3 separate regions of the Homo sapiens genome follow, and regions 2 and 3 are each linked to region 1. Evidence: promoter capture Hi-C in human tissues and cell types (Jung and others, 2019). All regions are on one chromosome and are shown on one strand. Each heading gives the region's core, a stretch centred on a gene start or on the middle of the fragment in contact. The rest is flanking DNA. Distances are from core to core; before and after follow the strand shown.

Evidence for each region. Contacts are between HindIII fragments. The study calls those that stand out against the background at their distance.
Region 2: a contact is called between a fragment that was not itself captured here and the fragment with the promoter of USP18 in region 1, in 3 of the 25 tissues and cell types used here (dorsolateral prefrontal cortex, lymphoblastoid cells and thymus).
Region 3: a contact is called between a fragment that was not itself captured here and the fragment with the promoter of USP18 in region 1, in 1 of the 25 tissues and cell types used here (lymphoblastoid cells).

The regions. Positions count from the first base shown.
Region 1 is chr22:18,148,590-18,152,024 of GRCh38, reverse strand. It overlaps USP18 (ubiquitin specific peptidase 18), which reads right to left and starts at 1,855. Exons shown (of 11, transcript NM_017414.4): 1 at 1,803-1,855. LOC124905076 (a long non-coding RNA gene) reads left to right here and starts at 2,811. Exons shown (of 2, transcript XR_007067999.1): 1 at 2,811-2,925. RefSeq lists an enhancer at 1,795-2,114. The HindIII fragment of the contact is 12,042 bases long and covers 582-3,435 here.
Region 2 is chr22:17,890,628-17,894,064 of GRCh38, reverse strand. It overlaps MICAL3 (microtubule associated monooxygenase, calponin and LIM domain containing 3), which reads left to right. Exons shown (of 32, transcript NM_015241.3): 11 at 161-257; 12 at 2,433-2,580. Among named protein-coding and RNA genes, the nearest start is that of MIR648, 89 kb to the left of the region's middle. The HindIII fragment of the contact is 3,153 bases long and covers 346-3,437 here.
Region 3 is chr22:17,863,679-17,866,883 of GRCh38, reverse strand. It overlaps MICAL3 (microtubule associated monooxygenase, calponin and LIM domain containing 3), which reads left to right. Exons shown (of 32, transcript NM_015241.3): 18 at 872-960; 19 at 1,898-1,985. LOC124905075 (a long non-coding RNA gene) reads right to left here and starts at 133. Exons shown (of 3, transcript XR_007067998.1): 1 at 47-133. The HindIII fragment of the contact is 7,762 bases long and covers 1-3,205 here.

The sequences.
Region 1 (3,435 bases), core at 606-3,105:
TGGAGTGCAGTGGCCGGATCTTGGCTCACTGCAAGCTCCGCCTCCCAGGTTCACGCCATTCTCCTGCCTCAGCCTCCCGAGTAGTTGGGACTACAGGCGCCTGCCGCCACGCCCAGCTAATATTTTTTATTTTTAGTAGATGGGTTTGCACCGTGTTAGCTAGGATGGTCTTGATCTCCTGACCTCGTGATCCACCTGCCTCGGCCTCCCAAATTGCTGGGATTACAGGCGTGAGCCACCGCGCCCGGCCTATTTTGCATTTCTTGAGTAATCGTAATATGCGGGTTAGAACACACGGATTACAACACTTTGGATGAAAAACCACATAATAGGGAAATTTTGGGACTACTCTCTCTCAAAAAAAAAAACAGCTCGTGGAAAAACTAGGACTTACCTTCTTTGAAACTATGTTTATGTTAAGCATTTTCCCCTTTGTAAGCTCATCATTGTGTAAAAGTGTCAGAACTGTGCAACACATTTTTTAACAGTCCAAAAGCAAGTTCTTTGATAAATCAATATGAAGCCGTGCACCTGTGTTACTCTCCCTCCCGTTTTGTTCCTGCGAACACATCGGTAACCTGCATTCACTCTCCATCCAACTCTGTTCAATACCAGAAAGAAACTTCAGATGAAATGCTTTTCAGTATTTGCCTTGTTTTCTGGAACAACTTTAAAGTACAAATTATACCTAAATAAGTACAAATTAAAGCCTCTGCTTTAATTTTCAAACACTTTGAACCCAGATTTTCAGGGGTCTCAAAATGGAGTTTTGTGTTTAAAAGTCTAAATTTAGCTTTCTTCCAAGGAAAAGGGTGTGAAGAAGAGAGGTTAAGACTAAAATACTCTGATTTGCAGAGTTTGACAACATCCTTCCAATTTCTCAATATGAATGCCCACTGACCCAGCCATTCCACTTCTAGGAATTTTCCACCGATATATTTGTATGAATGTATACATAAAATTATATTCATTGCCGTATCTGTGCCAGTAAAAACTGGAAACAACCTAAATCTCCATGCATTGTTTAAACAATGTACTTCCCATACCATGTATCAGGTTTTTTTGTTTGTTTGTTTGAGACAGTTTCGCTCTGTCGCCCAGGCTGGAGTGCAACGGTGCGATCTCGGCTCACCGCAACCTCCGCTCCCGGGTTCAAGCGATTCTCCTGCCTCAGCCTCCCGAGTAGCTGGGATTACAGGCATGCGCCACCACGCCAGGCTAATTTTGTATTTTTAGTAGAGACGGGGTTTCTCCATGTCTGTAACTCCTGACCTCAGGTGATCCTCCCTCCTCGATCTCCCAAAGTGCTGGGATTACAGGCGTGAGCCACCGTACCCGGCCGAATCAGTTTTTTGTTTTATTTTTAATGCCATTAACACATCTATATGTCCTGCCATGAAAAGATGTCCATAATATACTCAGTGGACAAAGCAAGTTCGAAATGATTTTAAAGACTTGTACATAGAAACATTTCTGATAAGGTACAAACAAAAATGATACTGAGTGGAAGACTGCGAGACACATTTGTCTGCATTGTTTGAATTTTTTTACAAGCTTACAACACTTCTGCAATTTCTTTTTTTGTTTTAATTAAACACAAAGTCATGTCAAAAGTCCAAATAACTATATTAGCTTAGAAAAAAATTCACTGGCCCAAAATATATGCACGTAGTAAATACAGATCACTATCATAATTTGCAGAGCACAATTATTACTTAATTCCTTAATTATCTGACTGGCATAGGAGCAGAGTTGGATGTCTGTGCTAGAAAGAAAACTTCCAAAATGAGCCCCGAACTTGCCTCAAGCGCCATGCAAGCGTCCAGCCTCCGCTGCTGAGTTCCACGTCGGGACTGAGCCGGGGACCGAGCTGGGACCGAAGTTCCGCTCCGGGCCCGCCTTGGTCTGGCCCCGCGCTCGTGGCACCCCGCCCAGCTTTCGTTTTCCACTGAATGGAAAGCGAAACTTACAGCGGCCTCCGCGCCGGGAGCTGGGCGCCAGCGTGCGGGGAAACCCTGCCGGCCCGAGCTTCCCGCGGCTGCCGTTGCAGCCGCGCACCTGCTCCAGACTTCCAGCCCTCGCTTTTTTTTTTTTTTTTTTTTTTTGAGACGGAGTCTCATTCTGTCGTCCAGGCTGGAGTGCGGTTGCGCTGTCTCGGTTCACTGCAAACTCCGCCTCCTGGGTTCAAGCGATTCTCCTGCCTCAGGCTCCGGAGTAGCTGGGATTACAGGCATGCGCCACCACTCCTGGCTAATTTTTGTATTTTAGTAGCGATGGGGTTCCGCCATGCTGGCCAGGCTGGTCTCAGGTGATCCGCCCGCCTCCTAAAGTGCTGGGATTACAGGTGTGGGCCACCGCGCCCGACCTACAGGCGCCTTTTTATTTGCGATTTTAAGGTCCTTGCAATTAGCCTACGTGTTAGAGTCATTTGGCGTTTGGTAGTATCCATGGCAGCATTTTTTCTTTCTTAATGCTATTGTATTTCTTGGATCGGGTGTCTTCACATCACCGGCCTGTGGCTTGGATGCGGCACATGGTGTAATTAGGAGCTCCCCTGTGGGCATGCAGATACAGATATTTCTCCACTTAAGAAGGGGTCAGGGGGCGCGGTGGCTCACACCTGTAATCCCAGCACTTTGGGATGCTGAGGCAGGCGGATCACCTGAGGTCAGGAGTTCGAGACCAGCCTGACCAACATAGTGAAACCCCATCTCTACTAAAAGTACAAAAATTAGCTCGGCGTGGTGGCGCTTAATCCCAGCTACTTAAGAGGCTGAGGCAGGAGAATAACTTGAACCCAAGAAGCGGAGGTTGCAGTGAGCAGAGATCGACAAGAGCAAGACTCCGTCTAAAAAAAAAAAAAAAAAATGGGGTCAAGTCCCAGTGAACCCATCATGAAGTCGAAACATCGTAAGTGAAACCACGGTAAGTGATGGACCATCTGTGTATATATAAGGTTAAGAGATCTGTAACATGCACACCGGAAAGGCTTATTACCTCTTTAGAGATGTATTTCTTGTATGTAGACTCATGGGGGTAGGGGCAGAAGGGTTATCTGCTAGGGGCCTCAAACTCCAGCCGCTGGAATTTGCGCAGGAAAGCAGGGTACAATTCCCCCAAAGCGATCATTCTTTCTGAAAGCCGTCCCCGCAGCAACAGACAAATAGCCTCCAAAAACCCAAAGCTGCCAGAACCTCACTGAAGCGTTGGTAGGGTCTGCAGTAAGGTACAAAATACCATGGCATGAAGATGTATAAACGTGTCCATAATAGGGTGGATGTGTGTTAGAAGCATGAGCACAGATATACACATACAGGCTATCCACACGTCCATCGTCAGCCCAGACTCCGCTTACATTGCTGCTGGAACGGAGGCAGTGTCGCCCACAGTGCAGCATGTTCTCCCTGGAAGGCTGGTGGACTTTGCGCAGTATGG
Region 2 (3,437 bases), core at 673-3,172, 260 kb after region 1:
CTTATTTCATAAAAGATTTAAAGGTCATCATCCTAACTTCTGTCTGAACTTTACCCAGCCTTCTATCCCAGACTTTCCTTTCAGCCATTCTGCTCTTAGGTAGGAATTTGTTACTTGATATTTGATTTTCTTTCTGTTTGACTTTGTAAATTTCTGCCAGGTGCGCCATTTATATGATACTGGCGAAACAAAAGATATTCACCTGGAAATGGAGAGCCTGGTGAATTCCCGAACCACCCCCAAATTGACTCGCAATGGTGAGTTCTGGTGGTGGCTTTTTAAAATGCAGGCAGCCCCTTCAGAGAAGTCTATACTCATTCCCTGAGCCACAAGGTGCGGTCCGAGGCAGTGGCCGAAGTACTGTCTGAGACAGTGGCTCTCAACCCAGGGTGATTTTGCCCTCCAGGGGATACTTGGTAGTTGTCTGGGGACATTTTTGATGGTCATGATTGGGGGTGGGCAGGAGCCAGGGATGCTGCTGAACATCCCGCAGTGCACGAGACAGGCCTCCACCACACGGAATTACCTTGGCCTGAGGTGTTACGAGAGCACAGAGAGAAACCAGGTACAGACGCGGGGCAGAGGGGAGAGAGGGAGAGAGTGTGAGAGCTAAGGTTTCGGGAGAAGACTTTGTGGAAAAAGTCTTTGGCTGGGTCCTGCAACATAGCCAGGATTCAGTGACAGGTGAGGACCACTCCAGATTTTGTATGTATTGAAGGCCCTGAATACTTTTTTGAAAGAGAATGACATGAGTACACCTGGTCAGCCACACGTGAGAGGGGTTGGAGGAGGGAAGTACCAGAGGCAGGGAGACCAGGTAGAAAGACCTCGCCATAGTCAGGCTGAAGGTGGTGGAGGCCCAGATCTGGGCCTGATGCTGGGGATGAAGAAGGGAGGAGGCAGTGGAGGAGACCTCAGACTTTGGGCCAGGTGCAACTGGGTCCCAGGCCAAGCTTTGCTGCTGGTGAATTGTGCGGCCTCGAAGAGGTGATTGAATAGCTCTGAACTTCGATTTCCTTGTCTGTGAAGTGGGGGCAGCAGTGTCTACCTCACATTGTGATCATGAGTGCCGGGCCTGTGGTGGATGGTCATTGCCATTGTTGGTTATGTGAGAGAGAATGGTAAGGAGGTGAAGTCGATGGGCAGGGGCAATTGATCACCTTGTGGGGCAAGAGGTAGGTGTTTGTAGATGGTGCTACATCAGCGTAGGCAAGGCAGAGGGAGGGCTGAGAGGGTTGAGAGGTTTGAGTCATTTGGACATTGTGAATTTGACGTGCCATTGGGATGCCAGGGTGGATGTGAGGACCAGCAGGCAGTTGGAAACATTTGCATTTTTCTCCACTGGAGCGTCTTCTCTTTGAAAGCAGAGAGTGTATCTTTATTCACTGTTTTTATTTTAGAGCATGGAATATTGAAGTTGCCTGTTACATATTGGATGGTTGGATATACACATAGGAGACAGATCTGAGTAAAAGCTCATTTCTGAGCCAAGAGATGGCACCAGAAGGTGGTTTTATGTGTTATCGCAGAATACATTTTCATGGCGAAAAACCTAAATGAAACAGGATTTTCATGATACTTGGTTTTTAGCTTATGTTCACAAATTACTAAATGACTTAGTACAAACTTCAGTTGCCCTCGGTAAGGGAACAGACTTTCTTGGATATAAATAGTTCATAGATTCTTTTGAATGGCCGATATCAGAGCTCTTCTGATGTGATTAATAATAGGATTTTTAAAGAGGCTGTTCGGGTTTTAGAAGACGTTTCAATGAACTGTAAAAAGCATCCCAGCACATGTGTTTGCCTATTCAGTTTCTCAGGGTTGAGAATTCATAGTACAAGGTGCCAAGCTCTGTTCGGGGACTGTCTGGTCTGGGGCCCCAGGGTTGTCAGCGGAGCCCTGCAGGGCTTCTTCTCTTGGCAAGTTATACAGTGCCTTGGAAGTGCAAGGGCGAGGCCTGGGTGCTTTGGGTTGAACGTGCCACCCTATAGAATGGAGCCTTTTCTCCTCTCCTCTTCCCAGTGTTACTTTGGAGGGGGTAGGCTTCCTCAGCTAGGTGCCAGCGACTGTCCGGGAACTCAGAGCTGCTGTAAGCCAGGCTGGCCACACAGTAGGTGGCGCTCCTCCACCTCAGTGCCGTGGGGACAGCAGGTTGTGGCTGTCAGGCTGTGGTCCCTCAGGGTACTGGGGGGTGGACGTTGACCTTAGAGTCTGGATAAACTAGTAGTTTCTTTTCTTAGAATTCGCTGTCATGATACCATTTGCATAACCTTGTTCCTCACTGTTTTCTTTGCATGGAAACTAGTGTTGACTGTTTCGTCCCTACCCTCAGTAATTTTTCAAAGGGGACATGTGTCCTACAAAGAGGATTCTCTGTCAGCATTACCAGGTGACCACACCTCCAATAATACTGTGTTTTGTTGTTTTAGAGTCTGTAGCTCGTTCAAGCAAACTGCTGGGTTGGTGCCAGAGGCAGACAGATGGCTATGCAGGGGTAAACGTGACAGATCTCACCATGTCCTGGAAAAGTGGCTTGGCCCTTTGTGCAATTATCCATAGATACCGCCCTGACCTGATGTAAGTTGTGATCAAACTTTGTGTTTTTTTATACTCCTCAAGGATCTCAGACCACTCTGCTATCAAGTAACATTTTGTCCTTTTTCCTAGAATGAGGTACATAGTAAGATACTTTCTCTAGAAGGCAGTGATTTTGATTTCACTATATTTGAAACTCTGTATGTCATGTATTATATAGCTCAACCCAGGAATGATTTTTATTTTTGTTTTTTTCCAATTTTTTTTTTTGTGCTCCTATAGCTGAGTTTTAAAAATCACAACACTCATAAGTCAAAAACTGGTTTTGACACCCACCTGGGCCTGTTAGCTTCCCACAAAGGAAAACTGTTTATTGGCCCCGGTTGAACTCTTCATTTCGGCCAGCTGTCTCTCAAATTCTATGGGTCACAAGGGAAACCTGGCTAGAACATTTGGCCAGCTCAAGGCAAATGTGTCACTACTAACAAAGCAAAACATCATGAACAGTTGACCAATTTATGATGGTTCATTGGTATTTTCTCTGTGTTAAAGACTGCGTTTTTTACAGACATACTCTGTTGTCCTACCCACCTATCCCAGTGACATCTCCTTTGGCCATTCTCCACTCACCTGTCTACAGAATCAGAGTTCTAGGGTGACCCCAGGTCAGCTGCGGGGACCAGCACACCCAGGTTCCCCCATCGGCATTTGTTACCACGGAAGCCAAACCGAAGGATTCAGAAGCAGAGCATGTTGCATTATTTTGGTTTCCTGTCCTTTTCATCATTAGGTCCACTTAAGGGGCCAATTTCTGTTTGTTTTGTTTAATGATTGCTTAAGGAATCCTACAAGATATAGTTGCTATTTATATGATGGTTATAAACTGACAAGGCAAGAGC
Region 3 (3,205 bases), core at 74-2,573, 280 kb after region 1:
TAAAAAAGAGTCAGAAAAAAATGACTGCGTGGGTTAATTCCATTACCAGAGTCATGGGAAAAGCCAAGTTCAGTGGTGTTCAGATTTTTCTGACGACACCCCCCACGGGGATGCACGTTACATTGAGACCCAGACACAGCTGCAAGTTCCAAGAAATAACGTTTTATTCTCATCATGCCACAGTACACTCTGGATTCTATTCTATTCTATTCTATATTCTATTCTATTCTATTCTATTCTATTCTATTCTATTCTATTCTATTCTATTCTGTTCTGTTCTATGCTGTTCCCTTCCATCCTACTCATAGTCCATTGCAGTATTTTTTGTCTTCTAATGTCCTTTCCTGCTGATCCTGACCCTCTGAGGGGACTGGGAGGGGGTGAGAGATAGGGTGCGGGAGGGGGAGCAGCAGAGATGGGCCTGTCAGAGCCAATGCCAGGCGATGCCCCACCCCTGCAGCCTCCACGCCTCCACCCTGCACTTGTATTCATTCTTGGTTTCCCCAGCAATGCTACTCCCAGCGTTTCATGTGACCACATCTTTGTTCCTCACACACTGCCACTTTGTTTGCTGGCCCTGCCACACAGGCCTCACATCTTTGCTCTGGGCACTGATTGGGTGATGGCTCAATGGCCTTCACATTCCCAAAGGAAAAGACCCCCTTCAGGCCAAGGGAGAGGAGAGCTAGAATCAAAGTTTACCCGGAGGAACTGGCTTCTCTGGACAAGAAAGCTGGGCCCAGGGAAGGCTGGGTGGCTTGATGGCCTTGTGAGGCTGGAGGAGATGGAAAGGAGTGGCTGAGACCAGGGAGGCACGTTCAGGATCCGTGCCTGGCTCATCGCCTCTGTCCCTGCCTCTTGCTGTCTGCAGGTAAATTCTACTGTAAGCCACACTACTGCTATCGACTCTCTGGCTACGCACAAAGGAAGAGACCGGCAGTGGCTCCCCTGTCTGGAAAGGTAATGGTGACTCTCCTGTAAGTGGGGGAGAAGCAGTGGGTGTTGCAGCAGTGTGGCTATGGGCCGGGGGCGGCCAACCTGCAAATGCCCCTGCGTCCTTGCCTCTCCTGGGAACGGGGAGGGCCCGAAATGCAGTGGCAGTCCGGGGTGGAGAGGGAACCATCTTTTCATGGATGATCTGAGGTTGCCTCGCTAAGGTAAAGGCTCCACCTGCCCCCTGAGTCGGACCCAGGAGATGATGCAGCTCTCCATCTCAGCTGCGTAGACATCTGCCTTCGTCAACACACATCTTTCTGAGAGGACACCCTGCCACTGGGGTGATGCCGCCTCATGTTCCACATGATTAGAGCCTCCTCCAGAAGGGCAGGGTGGGAGAGGAGACTGTTGGGAGGATCCCTCGGTGGCCCCACCCTCACTCCCCACACCCAAAGGGCGCCCTGCCTGCGGGGCCTTTCACTAGTTCTGTGAGTTATTTGTCTGTGAATTTTTTCCTTCCTTATCCTCTTTTTAATGAGGGTGGCTTCTCCACCTGTCTTTGTCGCGGTGAACCCAGCAGTCTCTTCAGCATGGTTGCCACCTTGTCAGCACGCCTGCCTGTCAGTCCCCCTTGAGGGCTTCTGTTGCCTGCAGAGGGACTGGCAGGAAGAGGTGCACCTAGGTGGATCTAGACTTTGACTCCGGGTGACTCAGGAGGCTGAGGTGGGAGGATTGCTTGAGCCCAGGAGGTCGGGGCTGCAGTGAGCTATGATGATGCCGCTGCACTCCAGCCTGGGTGCCAGCAAGGCCCTGTCTCTTAAATAAATAAATAAATAAATAAATAAATAAATAAATAAATAAAATTTAAAACCAGCGTGTCAGATTGTCAGTGCCTCTAGGGATTTGAGGATTTGAGTGCATCAGTCAGAGTCACTCTTCTTTTTCTCATGAACTTTCCTAGGAGGCCAAAGGACCCCTGCAGGATGGCGCCACCACAGATGCAAACGGACGGGCCAACGCCGTGGCCAGCTCCACTGAGAGAACCCCAGGTAGCCTCACTTCCTTGTTTGGCTGGGTGGCGCGTCACTCCCTCGGCCTCTGTGACAAGGCCAAGGGCATGAGCCAGCACCTCCAAAGCAACATTTCTTCATTCGGGCAACAAGTGGCCCAAAACCCTCTGGACTCCTTTTTCATGTGCCAGCTGCTTGCGTTCGGAGTCCCCTTTCTCTATGGCCTGTCGGAGGTGCTGGTGCAAATCAGAGGGGAGTTCCACTGGCAGGCTGTGGCCCAGTGATGGGGCCGTCCGGTGGGCGGCAGAGCCGTGAAGTGCTGTCCCTCAGCCCCGTCCCGCACCATCACACCTGAGGGCGGCCCAGGTCCTGTGTAGGTAGACAGGAGCTCGCAGGCGCTCAGACACTGCTCCCATCACCCGCCCTGGTGAGGCCAAGGCCACTCGGCCTTCATGCAGTTTGCTTCCAAGCTCCTCTGACGGCCTGGAGCTGTGTTGATTAAGCCCCGTGGTCTTGTTTTGGGTTCACCTTCACTTAAGATTCTGCGTCCTGTTCCCTGTCACTGTGTGTGGATGAGCTGTGGCTGCTCTCCTGTCTGCCCTGCACCGTGATGGGACATGCCCTGTCCTGACCCCTTGGCCACTGGGCTTGTCATGAGGTCCAAGCCCTCACCTGTCCCACTTTCATGACCACTTCCTTGTGTTGGGAGGTGAACAGTACCATCTCTACCTCTACAAACACATTTATTCTTGTCATAGCATGACAGGACTCGCAGGGTTTGTGGGTACCAGGCCTGTTGGGAAGAATTATGTAGATTTTCCTTAAAATGGCCTCTCTCAGCAACTTGTAAAACTTGCCTGTGAGATGCGTCCAGAGCTCCACAAACTGCTGGGTGTTCTGAATGTCCCACATACAGCTCCAGGTGGTTCACGGCCCAGGGTCACTGTGGCAAGAGGGGGCCAGCAGGGCTGTGTTTCTGTCTGTCACACTTTCCTCTTGTTCAAAACACATGTATCTCAAGCAGCTATATACAAAACTCATAAAAATTAAAGATGGTCAGCCAGTGCCAGGAAATGTGGAGGAGGAGTTGGTCATAGAATTTCCATGGTGGGACAAGAGAATTACCCATTTGGCCTTCAACGAGAGGTTCCCAGAGTTGCATCCTTTCCCTTCCCTAACAGCTGGTTCATGTAGGCCTTGTGGTGCTCATTCTGGGAGAGGGAAGATGCGCCCAGAGGCTAGGCGGTGTGCCCTGGGAG